Regions from separate parts of the Homo sapiens genome. Here regions 1, 2 and 4 are each linked to region 3. The links are contacts of gene promoters, found by promoter capture Hi-C in blood cells and fetal thymus (Javierre and others, 2016). All regions are on one chromosome and are shown on one strand. Each heading gives the region's core, a stretch centred on a gene start or on the middle of the fragment in contact. The rest is flanking DNA. Distances are from core to core; before and after follow the strand shown. Region 1 overlaps GZF1 (GDNF inducible zinc finger protein 1). Region 2 has its middle 110 kb from the start of LINC01747. Region 3 holds the start of CD93 (CD93 molecule). Region 4 overlaps LOC105372568 (a long non-coding RNA gene).

Region 1 (3,171 bases), core at 29-2,528, 280 kb before region 3:
AAGAAAAATACCTTGAAAGTAGTTATGAGAGAAGTAAACCCACATGGAAATATAAGGCAGAGTGAGAAGCCAGGAAGACTGCTAACTACAATATCAGGAGCTGGTTCAGTTCTCTGTACTCTGCAATTAAGACCAGCAGTTATCTATAAACTAGGTAATCAAGAATTAGAACGATTAGCACATACACCCTACACCAGAATTAAGTGAGGTTATGTTCACTGCCTTTTTGTCAATAAAGTAGCTGAGATCATGCAGATCAGGATTTTTGAGGGAAAGCTTTAAAAATGCTGTGATAAAGCCGTGCAAGTTAGCAGAAGTTCAGGAAAATCTGCAGAGGCCATTCTTGCCCACATCTTTGCACATGGACAATTATTTTTCTTAGCCCCACATCATCTTGAGTTCAGCTACCACACACGCAGACTAACAGGATGGGAACTGCTTGAAGCTCTTATTCCATGTTGCTCAAAGAGTGAAGCTGTGTGGGCATCGAGTCTGTCTGTGGGGTCAGCTCGCTAAGCTCACTGATGGTGGTGGCCAGGAGGGTGTCCTGGGACACCACGGAGTCATCTGCCTTGCAGGCTGTGTCAGCAGAACTGTTCTCCTGCATGGTAGGTACAGTGTCTTGGACTGCAGCCAGGTTGTGGAAATGGCCATTTTCTGCAAAAGACAGCAATTTATCCGAAAGCTTGGATGACACATACTCTTCGTCAGGCTGTTCAGTCTTGTGTCCGTCATCGTTCTTGGGCGAGCCATCTACAATGACAAGGAAAGACTTCCATGGAGTATTCTTATCGTGTATCTATAAGTTAAACACAAAACAAAGGTCACTGAATGTGTCTCTGGACAAGTGCATCTTTTAAAACAATAGTCCCTCTACAACTTCAATTTTCAACTTTCACTAATAAGTACCCGCCTGCCACCACCCTCACTGTTACAGAGTAGTCATCGTGGATGGTGCTTTCCCTGGGCCTTGGGGCTTGGTGTTCCACTTCATTCATTCCGTGAGCGTTCCACTGCAGAGACAACCCAAGGAGAAAGTACCTGTTGTCTCGACCTCTAACCACCTTGGAGAATGGTGGTAGGTATTTCTCTTTCCGTGCATCTAAGGGCAGCAGCTTGTTTCTCAAATAAGCCAACCCACTGCTTACTGAGGTGTGCCGCCGAAGAGTGGACTTGTCGGTGAATGTCCGTCCGCACGCATTGCACATGAATGGCCTCTCCCCTGTGTGGATGCGGCGGTGGCGCTGGAGGGCGTTGAGCTGGGTGAACTGCTTGCCGCACTGGTCACAGCAGTAGGGACGCTCCCCTGAGGCAGGGAGAGAGGAGACTGCTGGTGGGTCCCTTTGGCCTACTGTGCTTAATTCTGAATACACACTTGAGTGAATGATGCTGTTGCAAACCACTGGGAAGCCTCAGCATCCAACATAAGGAAGGTTATGTTGGGAACAACTTAAGGGCTACAAATCCACTATCTCTATAATACCAAGAATTTATGGCCTACACCAAAAAGGGGCCAGGACATGTGCCTGCAGCAGGTATTATAACTATAGGAATGACACCTGTTTTCCATGGTAATGGAGTATAAAATTACAAGACCCCTAACAACTGAATATGCATGTGTGCATGTGCATTTACTAACATGTACAGATCATTATCCCTATGTCCACACATCCACATCCACTTCCTACATTCACACCATGACTAAGCTGTCTGTCCTTTTCAGTAAAAACTCCATGTAGCAAAGGGACTTAGTCTTCTCCCGTTTACACACATAAGTGCTCCCACTTTTCAGTTTCTCAGAGTTAGAAACAATCTCTAAAGAAATGCTATTATGACATACAAAGTTTGGCCAGTTTTCTTCAAAAGCTTAGTTCCAAGTAATTTACTGGTAAATCTACAAGCTTTAGAATTTTTTTTTTGGCCAAACTAAACTCCCTTCCCTGGGACATTCCAACCATACCTGTGTGGACTTTAATATGCTGGTACAGTGAATTCCGCTGGGCAAAAGTCCTGAAACATACTTCACATTTAAAGGGTTTGGATCCAGTATGGATTCTATTGTGGTGTTTTAAGTACTCCTTAGAAGCAAAACTCTTGCCACATGTTTCACACATAAAAGGTCTTTCACCTACATGAGAAAATGAAATAAAGTCATAAACAATACAGGCATTAAAAACACATGGAACAGTAGGTCTCCACTGTTAAAACCCACGTGAACTCAAAAGTGCCTTGGTAGGCAGCATGTTACATTTTCCAGTAAAAACTATCATAAAATATATATTCATGTAAGATGCTTGCTACTTACTGAAAGTTGGTGTAAAATATCCTTGGAAATTGCAAGAAAAATTCCATTTGACTAGAATCAAAGAGGTATTGTTTGTTCAGCTGGCTCACATTTTAGAAATTTACTCATTCCAAACAAGAAAATAATTTCACAACTTCTGTTTGGAGGAACTGCTGGATTATTTTCAAAGGAACACTTCTATGGATCTTTATCAGAATAAAGGGGAAGTTGACAATGGATATATATCACTATTCTAGAGTAGCAACTCCAATCAACTTGATTGAATTGTAGGACAAGAGTTTTAAATATCTCACTTTTTGTAGTTTAATCCCACAAATCAGACTTACCAAATTATTAGCTGTGCCCGATTTCACAGACATCAAAATAAAAATAGTGACTTTAATAAAATCTTACCATGTTAATATTATCAAAGGACCAATTCTAACTTAATCCTTCATTATAACCTGACCTTGTCCCCAATCCCAAGCTTTCTTTAAACAATTCTACTCATTCTGTAGTCATAATGCATGTCATTAAATGCTAATTTCATGACATTAAATGAGATTTTCATTCAATGACATGAATTATGACTTCAGAATGAGCAGAACTGGTGTCTAATCACACAGATGTGGTGTCTAATGAGTCAGAGACATGTCATCTCTGTCTCACATGCATTTGAACTTGAGGCTTGTAAGCCAGTGTTTACAGGTAAGAATAAAAAATGCAAGCAAAGAAGAAACTGAGAAGAATTGGAACACTTCAGTGCTGTATGCTTCTGTATCTTCCACAAGATTCTAAACCTCAGGGTTACTGTGCTGAAGCAGAATAAAGCCAACTTAAGTTTTATCTGTCACATAATTAATAAATCATAAAGACTTTGGAAAACA
Region 2 (3,125 bases), core at 598-3,097, 300 kb after region 3:
CTGGCTTGCACACAAAGAGAGAGAAGCTGACGGCCTGTGGCAGCCCTCAGGAAGTTATCATGAGGTGTGCGAGTGGGGGAGTCTGATTTCAACCCTTCTTTGCACAGGTAAGGAAAGGGAGATGACAATGCAAAATGACTCATCCACCACCAACAACAACTTGGAGGCAGAATTAGGCTCAGAGTTCCAGAAACTGTACTTCCCACTGCATGCTGGTGACAGGCTCACACTTGGGACTTGACCTGTTGAGGTTACTTTTTTCCCTGCATCAGTCAAGATATCATTGCCTTAGCAACAATATGTTTGGTCATTTGTTATGGTTATTGGTAGAATATTTTTACTTTTTTCTTTCTACTGGATCACTCCCAACATCATGCAAACATCTGGTGATTTCTCTTATCTTGAGAAAACCCTGTCTTAGCCCTATATTCCCCTACAAGTGCCACCTCATTTCCTTGCTGTCCTTTAAAAGAAATCTCACTTTATCTTCCCATTTTCTCTTGAGTATGCTCAAACAAAGGATATTCGAGTCAACTTGAGATGCCCCTGCCACTCAATCAATCATGTCCTACTTCTGGAGCTCCAGGCACTGTTTTAGACACTGGAGACAAATTAGTCTTTTGCTGATGACATCCATGCTACTAAATCCACAGCCAGGGCCCTGTTGTCACCTTCTTGGCCTGTCGGCATGAGCTAGTGCAGTGAGTCATGCCCTGCTCCTCAGCATTTCTGACCCTCGCATATATCTCCTGCACATCTATATTTATGTTCTTAGGAGATGTTCTTGGAAATGGAATTATTATTACTATGTGAGAAGTTACCAACATTCATTTTCTTAGCAAAAGGTAAAGCCGAATCAATACTACGTATTTGGAGAAAACTTAAATTCTAAGACATGTTCTCAAGACAGTGTAGACTTACCCTAATCTCCACAGCTGTCTATAGCTATGATACAATAACACCTTATGAATCAATGTATAATAAGGTTCTGTGTGGATTCAATAAGGTCACCATGGATTCAATTTTCTTCACTATGTGAATAAAAGCAAGAAAACAAATATTTGCATTTAGAAATAACTCTTACCTCACAAGCAGGAATAAGTAGGGTTTTCTAATGCTCCTTGGTAAGGAAGTATGAGGTCAGAAAGGCTGGGTCCAGCTCTTCCTCAGCTACTTATTAGATCTACAGCCATGAAAGAGTGATGACTCCTTGGCATCTCAGTTGTCCTTATCTTAAATGACGAGGTTGGACCAAATGGCCAAGGAGCAAAATTTTCGTTCAGCTATGAGAGGCTATGAGTCTACCAGAAATGATAATTTTCAAAAGCAACTCATTTGGTTTCTTCTACAGTTGAGTCCACATCAACCCAGTAATTCCACTATTAGACATTTACCCAAGAGAAACAAAAGCATATATCTGCAAGAACTCTTGCACCAAAATTCTCATGGTAGACTTGTTTGTAACCAACTCAAAGGACAAGCCATCCAAACATCTCTCAAGTGAATATACTCATGAACTCCTACTCAACCATAAAAAATAACTACTGATGCATACAACATACATAAATATTAGAGACACATTGAGTGAAAGAAGCTTAGCACATACTGTATGAATCCATTCACATGAAGTTGTAGAAATGAAAAACATAATCTTTTGGTGCTTGAAGTCAGACCATGGTTGCCTTGGGTTGGGACAGTGGATGCTTGACTGGGCAGAGGCACAGGAAACCGTCTTGGATGATATAATGTTCTGTGTCTCATACAGAGTGGTGATTATACACAGGTATATAAAACTGACAAAACTCATCAAGTCAAACACCAAAGAATAGGGCATTTTATTGCATGTATATAATATTCCCAAAAACATACACTTTAAAGCCCCATCCCCTAAGCACTGAGTCCAAATGTGGAATTGAAGAGTGAATTGGATGCACTGCCAATCATTGGCATGCTGCCTTCATTTTGAGGCACACATTTGAAGTTTTTGGGTGCACCCAGCTATGGGAGCAGGACGGCTCAGCCCAAGTAACAAGCTCCTCAGCCTGTGGTTCTGAATCTGGGCCTGGTCTCAGACTTCCCTGTATCCTTTGGGCAAGCTTGCTTTCCTGTCTCACCTCAGGGCTGAAAAACTGAGCTGAAGTGCTCAAATGCCTCAGAGCCCCCAGGTGAGTGGTGAAGCCCTTTTAGAGGAAATACCAAATGCAACTCTAGAATGGATGTAGCGGTGTAGCCTCCCAAAGTCCATTCTTAGTGGTTGGCTCACAGAAGTCCCAAAGCTGCCAATGTGCTTTATCTCAATTTTACAAGTGCTAAGTACTGGAATTTAAAGCCAAGAACAGTCCTTTCAGAGTACGAGAAACACATGTTTCCCCACAGATGGTGGGACCAAAGCTTATGACCTTTGGGGAGAAGTCTTCACAGCTGTGTGATTATCTGAGCAGTTTCCTACTGGGAAGGACATGTGGAGACCAGAGATATAAACCCTAAGCAAATAAATACCAATCTGGGTAATTCAAGTAGCCCTGGAAATCCATGGTGTGACTGAATTCTTCTGCCAGGGAAGGGAAAAGTCCACCTGGAAATGGTGCTGCTGTGTTTCCTTCGGCTCTCGGTCAGTGGACGTGAGGCATGTGTCAGTGCAGCAGCGAACTTGGAGAGAAGAGAGTTCTGCATCACTGAGAAATATGCAAAAGAGCAAAGGATAGGGGTAGGGAAAGTTCTGATTGTGAGTTTGTCCCTTCCATTGAGGCTGTTAGACCAGGAGCGGGGAACTAGTTCCACCAGAGGCCACCTGCCAAAACTGTTAATGTGGAACTTTGAAATTCACAAAAAAAGCCATGTCATTTGGCATGTGTTGTTTTACCAATGCTTTTCTAATTTATGTTGAATGCATTAAACTTGAGAAATAGAATAGCTCAGACTAAAAAAACAAAAACAAAAATCTCTTATAATCTCATTGCTCCAAGAAGACTTGGGTTAACACGTCAATGTATGACTTTCATATTCAGGCATACCTCACTAATCTATAGAAATACATTCTGAGAAATGGGTTGTTTGGTAAGTTTCTCCTTTTGAAAATATCATACCATATACTTATACAAACTTAGATAGCATAGCCTACCACA
Region 3 (3,057 bases), core at 492-2,991:
CCTCCTGGTGACCATTTCCCTGTGGGACAGGCAGATACAGCCCATTTGATGGTCTCAGTGACTCCACACCCCACAGGGACTTCCCAGACATGCCGCCATGCCCACCTCTCAGCCACAGGGACCCCACGGAGCCCGTGTCTGTTTGCTCTAAACCCACCAGTGAGAAGTCCCCTTGGGAAACCTGCTTGGGAAACGTCCTGGACCCCAATAAAGGCTTAGGACCCAGGTCTCTCTCTCTCCCTTCACCCCCCTCCAGGTGAGTGTTTGTGACCCAGACAGCTCCCCACTTTTTGCTGGCCCCGTGGGGTGCACTGCCCTCTCCCTGGGATCTGTAAGTGACACGGTGCTTGTGTTGCTTCCTGTGTCTTCTTGTGCTGCCTCCTGCATCTCCCCTGACCCACACCCCAACCCAACTCTCCTCCCATCAGGGATCTCTTAGGAAGTGGCTGTCTTGATAGGAATAAACTGGACATGGGTCAGACGAGAGCCACAAGGGTGTCTGTCCATAGAAACAAGTTTTATGTGAGAGAGACCCCTGGTCACTGGGCAGGGCTAGAATTTATAGTCAGTCTCTCAAAGTGAGAGATACAGCCTGCTACCAATGACAGGGGACTTGGAGAGCAGTGGAGCCTCTCCCTCAGCTGAGATGGTGCTGAGGTGTGGTCCCCTCAGGCCCCCAGAGTTTCCTGGCACTGGCTCCAGCAGCCCAGGGTCACCTTCTCAGCAAGTCATCATGGGTTGGCTTCCTCCTTGTCTGTTTCACTTCCCCTCCCACATAAACTAGTCTCCCCAAATCCTGTCTCAGGGTCCCCTCCTGGGGGATCCCAACCAATGAGCAAAGGTCTGTGGCTGCAGGAAAAGCACACTGTGAGTCCCTGGCTTTTGCCGAGTCGCGGTGTCGCGGGAGGGCCTGCCCGGGCTTCGATTCCCGCTCCCTGCCCAGATTTCCGGCCCTTGCTAGGAATCCTGAGCCGGGGGAAGTGAGCCTGCAAGCCCTGCGCCACGAGGCCGGACACATTTTCATTTTCTTTCTGATGCTTTTTGTGACCCTGACACCTCACAATGCAATATTTCCACTATGAAACCCCCAGAACTGCCAAATTTCACCCAATTTGGATTAACATTATCGAGGAGCTTGGCATTATGTTGAAAACCCAGACATTCCCACGACCCGTATCCTATTTAAAAAATGCCTGTCTATTTAAGGTTCACGATGGGAGGATAAAAGAAAAAAGGCTCCCAAAGTCAACAGAGAACATGAGCTAGGCAAAAGGAAAGTCCAGTTTGCTTCTAAAAAAGGCTGAAAATTATAACCATCCATGGCCTTGTGTCTTAAGTCTCAGAATTTTTTTTTTCTCTTTTGGTGGTTTGCAAACCAAAGTGGAATTTTATTATGGGTTACTAAGGGAGCTTCCTCGAGTTCCTAGCCCCCAAAGCCCCTGCTCACTCCATGGCATGCCTCCGAGGCTCCTCATGCCATGAGAAAGAGAATGGAGCCAAAATCAAGCCGGCAGTATCTCGGGGCTGTAACGTCTTCCCCCCGTCGCTGTTTCCACAGTGCTGAGCCAGGGACCCGGCAGAGCTGCCTGACTCCTTTTATGAACAACAGCACCGTGATGAAGGCAGCAGGAGTCAGAGAACTATTCATTGCAGGAAGCCCCAACATCCGGTGAGAAATAAGAAGTACAACAGTACAGGATGCGCCTTGGGTCAGGGGGACGTGGAAAGCCCTCAGCCTTTGTGTCCTTCTCTGCGCCGGAGTGGCTGCAGCTCACCCCTCAGCTCCCCTTGGGGCCCAGCTGGGAGCCGAGATAGAAGCTCCTGTCGCCGCTGGGCTTCTCGCCTCCCGCAGAGGGCCACACAGAGACCGGGATGGCCACCTCCATGGGCCTGCTGCTGCTGCTGCTGCTGCTCCTGACCCAGCCCGGGGCGGGGACGGGAGCTGACACGGAGGCGGTGGTCTGCGTGGGGACCGCCTGCTACACGGCCCACTCGGGCAAGCTGAGCGCTGCCGAGGCCCAGAACCACTGCAACCAGAACGGGGGCAACCTGGCCACTGTGAAGAGCAAGGAGGAGGCCCAGCACGTCCAGCGAGTACTGGCCCAGCTCCTGAGGCGGGAGGCAGCCCTGACGGCGAGGATGAGCAAGTTCTGGATTGGGCTCCAGCGAGAGAAGGGCAAGTGCCTGGACCCTAGTCTGCCGCTGAAGGGCTTCAGCTGGGTGGGCGGGGGGGAGGACACGCCTTACTCTAACTGGCACAAGGAGCTCCGGAACTCGTGCATCTCCAAGCGCTGTGTGTCTCTGCTGCTGGACCTGTCCCAGCCGCTCCTTCCCAGCCGCCTCCCCAAGTGGTCTGAGGGCCCCTGTGGGAGCCCAGGCTCCCCCGGAAGTAACATTGAGGGCTTCGTGTGCAAGTTCAGCTTCAAAGGCATGTGCCGGCCTCTGGCCCTGGGGGGCCCAGGTCAGGTGACCTACACCACCCCCTTCCAGACCACCAGTTCCTCCTTGGAGGCTGTGCCCTTTGCCTCTGCGGCCAATGTAGCCTGTGGGGAAGGTGACAAGGACGAGACTCAGAGTCATTATTTCCTGTGCAAGGAGAAGGCCCCCGATGTGTTCGACTGGGGCAGCTCGGGCCCCCTCTGTGTCAGCCCCAAGTATGGCTGCAACTTCAACAATGGGGGCTGCCACCAGGACTGCTTTGAAGGGGGGGATGGCTCCTTCCTCTGCGGCTGCCGACCAGGATTCCGGCTGCTGGATGACCTGGTGACCTGTGCCTCTCGAAACCCTTGCAGCTCCAGCCCATGTCGTGGGGGGGCCACGTGCGTCCTGGGACCCCATGGGAAAAACTACACGTGCCGCTGCCCCCAAGGGTACCAGCTGGACTCGAGTCAGCTGGACTGTGTGGACGTGGATGAATGCCAGGACTCCCCCTGTGCCCAGGAGTGTGTCAACACCCCTGGGGGCTTCCGCTGCGAATGCTGGGTTGGCTATGAGCCGGGCGGTCCTGGAGAGGGGGCCTGTCAGGATGTGGATGAGTGTGCTCTGGGTCGCTCGCCT
Region 4 (3,228 bases), core at 442-2,941, 260 kb after region 3:
AGCTTCCATTTGCCTTTGCCACATAGAAAATGTAGGAAGATCATCCTCACTCATAGTCAAATGCACTGTGGTCTTAGTGTGTTCCCAAAGAGTGAAGCCTGAGGCTAGCACTGGGGGCAGGGAATATACTTGAAAGGTGACCCAGGAGCACCCTGAGGGAGTGGAGGAAGGAGACAGAGAAGGGAGGAATGCTAACAAAATAGGGTCGATGAACAGTTAACTGGACAAAGAAAATGTTGTACATATAGAATACGCAATGCTATGCAGCCATAACAAAGAATTGAATCATGTCCTGTGTAGCAACATGGATGCAGCTGGAGGCCATCCAGCTTTGCTCACTAAGTGAACTAATTCAGAAGCAGAATATCGCATATTCTTACTTATAAATGGGAGCTAAAGAATGGGTACACATGGACATAGAAATGGAGAGATAAAACTATGAGGACTCCAAAAGTGGAGAGGCTGGGAAGGAAGTGGGGGTTGAAAAATTACCTTTTGGGTACAATGTTCAATATTTGGTTAATGGATACACTAGAAACCAAACCTCCACCATTACACCTGTAATACCCATGTAACAAACAAGGACGTGTACTCCCTGAATCTAAAATTTAAAAAAAATAAAAATAAAAATAAATAAATAAAATGGGGTGGATGAGCTGCTACTTCCATGGTCACCTGAGGCTACAGAGTGGCTGTGCAGATGCCATGACTTAGAGTTGTCCCACCAAAAGGAGGGGTGAGGAAGTCAGGGTCTCACCCATCCTCATTGTTTGAGCACTGTTACAGGAGGTGGGGGTAGGTCCCCAGTCACTTGTGGCCCATCCACGTGGAGGCCAGAGAACACCTTTGGCATGTACAGGGATGTCTCAGGTTACCTCTGAGAATTTGAGGGATGTGGACAGCGCCAGGCAGCATCCGCTATTTCCTTTCTTTCTGACCTGCAAAGATTCTGCTGCAAGGTTGAACATAGAAATCCAGGTTGCAAAGAATTTAGTCTCCTACCACTAAACCTGTAATCACTGTATACCCAGGTGTCTTAAAGGAGGAAGAGAAAAAAGAAGCATTATAGTTGGCTCAAAGCATATAGTTGGCTCCAAGAGATGTCTGTGTGGACCCAAATCAAGGTCACCCATACCAGTCCCCTCCCATTTCTGTGAGAGCCCCTCAAACTCACCCATTCTTTAAGGTGAAGTTGGGCCCCCTCTTCCACAAAGCCTTGCCAGGCTACACAGCCACAGGGCTCTCTTCTCTCCACTCCCAGGACAGAAATGCAAGCAGGCTTCTGCGTGGGTGTCTGCCCCAAGGGACTGGAAGTGGCTGCTCAGAGTCTGAGGCTGCTTTCTGGCTTGGTGGAAGAAAGCGAAGGGATTGATTCAAGAAGCTACCAGGAAGGAGAAGAACAAAGGCAAAGTATTTCCAGAATACAACTCGACTGGCCTCTTCCTCTCCTTTATCAGGAAGCAGAAGCCTGGGGGAAAAGGACCTACACATAAATGCATTGGGCAGCTACAGGAGAAGAGATGCATGTGGTGCAGTGGCTTTGAGGCTGGAGGTATTGCTGTGCCGTAGGCAGGCACCACCTGGCCCAGCCCAGCACCGAAGTGTCTTCAACACATATTGCTGGAACTGAATTGTGTTTCATGGATTTGAACTGAGGAGGTGGATGAGCCAGGGAGGAAGAGGAAGGGCTCGAGGGATGAAGCCCAATGAGCTTACATTTTAGGCTCAAGCTGACCTCAAATCTAAGGCCTATGTAAAAAGGGCTGGTGATTCAGACTAATATTTTTACCCATTGACTTATTCTCCAGCCCCCTCACAGCAATGCAAACCAGATTTGCACCAACTCCTTGATTGCTTCAGAGGTCACGTTACTTACGATGCACGGCTCTGAGGGTTTCTCTGTGATCTTAGCTCCCTGTGGTGCTGGGGTTCTGATGACTGTCAGCTCTCAGACCTGGGCCGCCCTGGGGGCTGTCAAGTCACGCTTACTGAAGGCCTGATATTCTTCCATGTTGGAAAATACATTCTTAATTATCATTCAGAATGATCCTTGTTGCTGGGAATGGCAGGTAGGCTCTGGGATCCCACTTTTGCTGATGACATGGGTCTTCACACCCAAGCAGCCTGAATGGAGGGACAAAGGCAAGAAAAAGAGAACACTTCTCTGAGTAGAGAGAGAAAGGGGAGAAAAGGCTGCTGTTGCTTTAACAAACATGAATCGCAGAACAGCAGGCCTGCCAACAAATGTGGTTCCTATTGATCTATCAAAACAGAACTAGCATCTTGAGATTTAAATAAGACACATGCTTAATAGGGCAGCTTCTTTTGGCAAAGGGAGTGAGGATTTGCCTGTGATGCACATTTAAAAACAGCCCGCCCAAACTGAGGGTCGCGCTACGAACCTAACCTGGAGTGGTCAAATGTCCGGGCCATGGAATATAAAGGAAGGTAGGGGTTCTCCAGGTGAAGGGAGGCCAGGGAGAGGTCAGCAAAGTGCAACATGACCTTGCGGCTTCTTTCGCCTCCACCAGGGACTTTACTGGTGCAGTCAGTGAAATCTGAATAAGGTCTGTAGATTAGATAATAGGTTTGTATTGGCCTTAATTTTCTGATTTTGATAATTTTTGTAGTTAAGTGAGAGAATGTTCTTGTTTTTACACACACTGAAGTCTTTAGGCGTAAAGGGGAGGAAAGAGAGAGAGAGCAGAGAGTAAAAATGCTCACATTTGGGGTCTCCAAGTGAAAGGTATCTGGGAACTCTCTGTGTTCTTCCTGTAACTGTTCTGTAAGTCTGGGCGGCTGGTGGCCTTGCCCTCTTCTTGACCTGAGACCAGCTCTGGATACAGAGACCCACATTTTTTTTTTCATCCCTTTGAATTTTACCTGCCTGGTCCTGGGCCTGCTCTAGTCAGGGTCTCTGAGAGGACCTGGCATAGCCCTGGCCTATGGCCCCCAACCTCATGTCCCCTTCGATTAGGACACCTTGATATATGCCCCCGTTGTCCTGGTCTCCCCTAGCCCACCTGCCTGTGTTTCTGCTGGCTGCCCACATGCCACCTACTTGCATAAAAGAATAGCTCCCTTCTCCCCCTTCCTCACCCCTGCCCCATGTCATTGTGAGACTGCTAGTGGAGCCCCTCCCTTCCTCACTGGGCCCAGGATGTCCGGCCACACTGGGTCTGTCCCACGCCCTGCCAGCGCCCATCCTTCCTGGGAGCCTTCAGTGCT

What was found. Contacts are between HindIII fragments. The CHiCAGO score rates a contact against its expected background, and 5 or more counts as called.
Region 1: a fragment that was not itself captured here is called in contact with the fragment with the promoter of CD93 in region 3 in 2 of 17 cell types (neutrophils and monocytes); the score reaches 6.9 in neutrophils.
Region 2: a fragment that was not itself captured here is called in contact with the fragment with the promoter of CD93 in region 3 in 1 of 17 cell types (endothelial precursors); the score reaches 5.9 in endothelial precursors.
Region 4: a contact is called between a fragment that was not itself captured here and the fragment with the promoter of CD93 in region 3, in 1 of 17 cell types (neutrophils). The highest score is 7.0, in neutrophils.

What each region holds. Positions count from the first base shown.
Region 1 is chr20:23,367,719-23,370,889 of GRCh38, reverse strand. It overlaps GZF1 (GDNF inducible zinc finger protein 1), which reads right to left. Exons shown (of 6, transcript NM_022482.5): 4 at 1,961-2,128; 5 at 1,149-1,306; 6 at 1-799. The coding sequence ends at 449. Among named protein-coding and RNA genes, the nearest start is that of GZF1, 7.1 kb to the right of the region's middle. The HindIII fragment of the contact is 1,181 bases long and covers 688-1,868 here.
Region 2 is chr20:22,789,111-22,792,235 of GRCh38, reverse strand. No RefSeq gene overlaps it. Among named protein-coding and RNA genes, the nearest start is that of LINC01747, 110 kb to the right of the region's middle. The HindIII fragment of the contact is 502 bases long and covers 1,597-2,098 here.
Region 3 is chr20:23,085,008-23,088,064 of GRCh38, reverse strand. CD93 (CD93 molecule) reads left to right here and starts at 1,741. Exons shown (of 2, transcript NM_012072.4): 1 at 1,741-3,057. The coding sequence starts at 1,873. RefSeq lists enhancers at 1-50, 1,578-1,757. The HindIII fragment of the contact is 6,182 bases long and covers 1-3,057 here.
Region 4 is chr20:22,822,338-22,825,565 of GRCh38, reverse strand. It overlaps LOC105372568 (a long non-coding RNA gene), which reads right to left. Exons shown (of 3, transcript XR_937351.2): 2 at 1,877-2,124; 3 at 1,184-1,381. Among named protein-coding and RNA genes, the nearest start is that of LINC01747, 140 kb to the right of the region's middle. RefSeq lists an enhancer at 3,222-3,228. The HindIII fragment of the contact is 3,374 bases long and covers 5-3,228 here.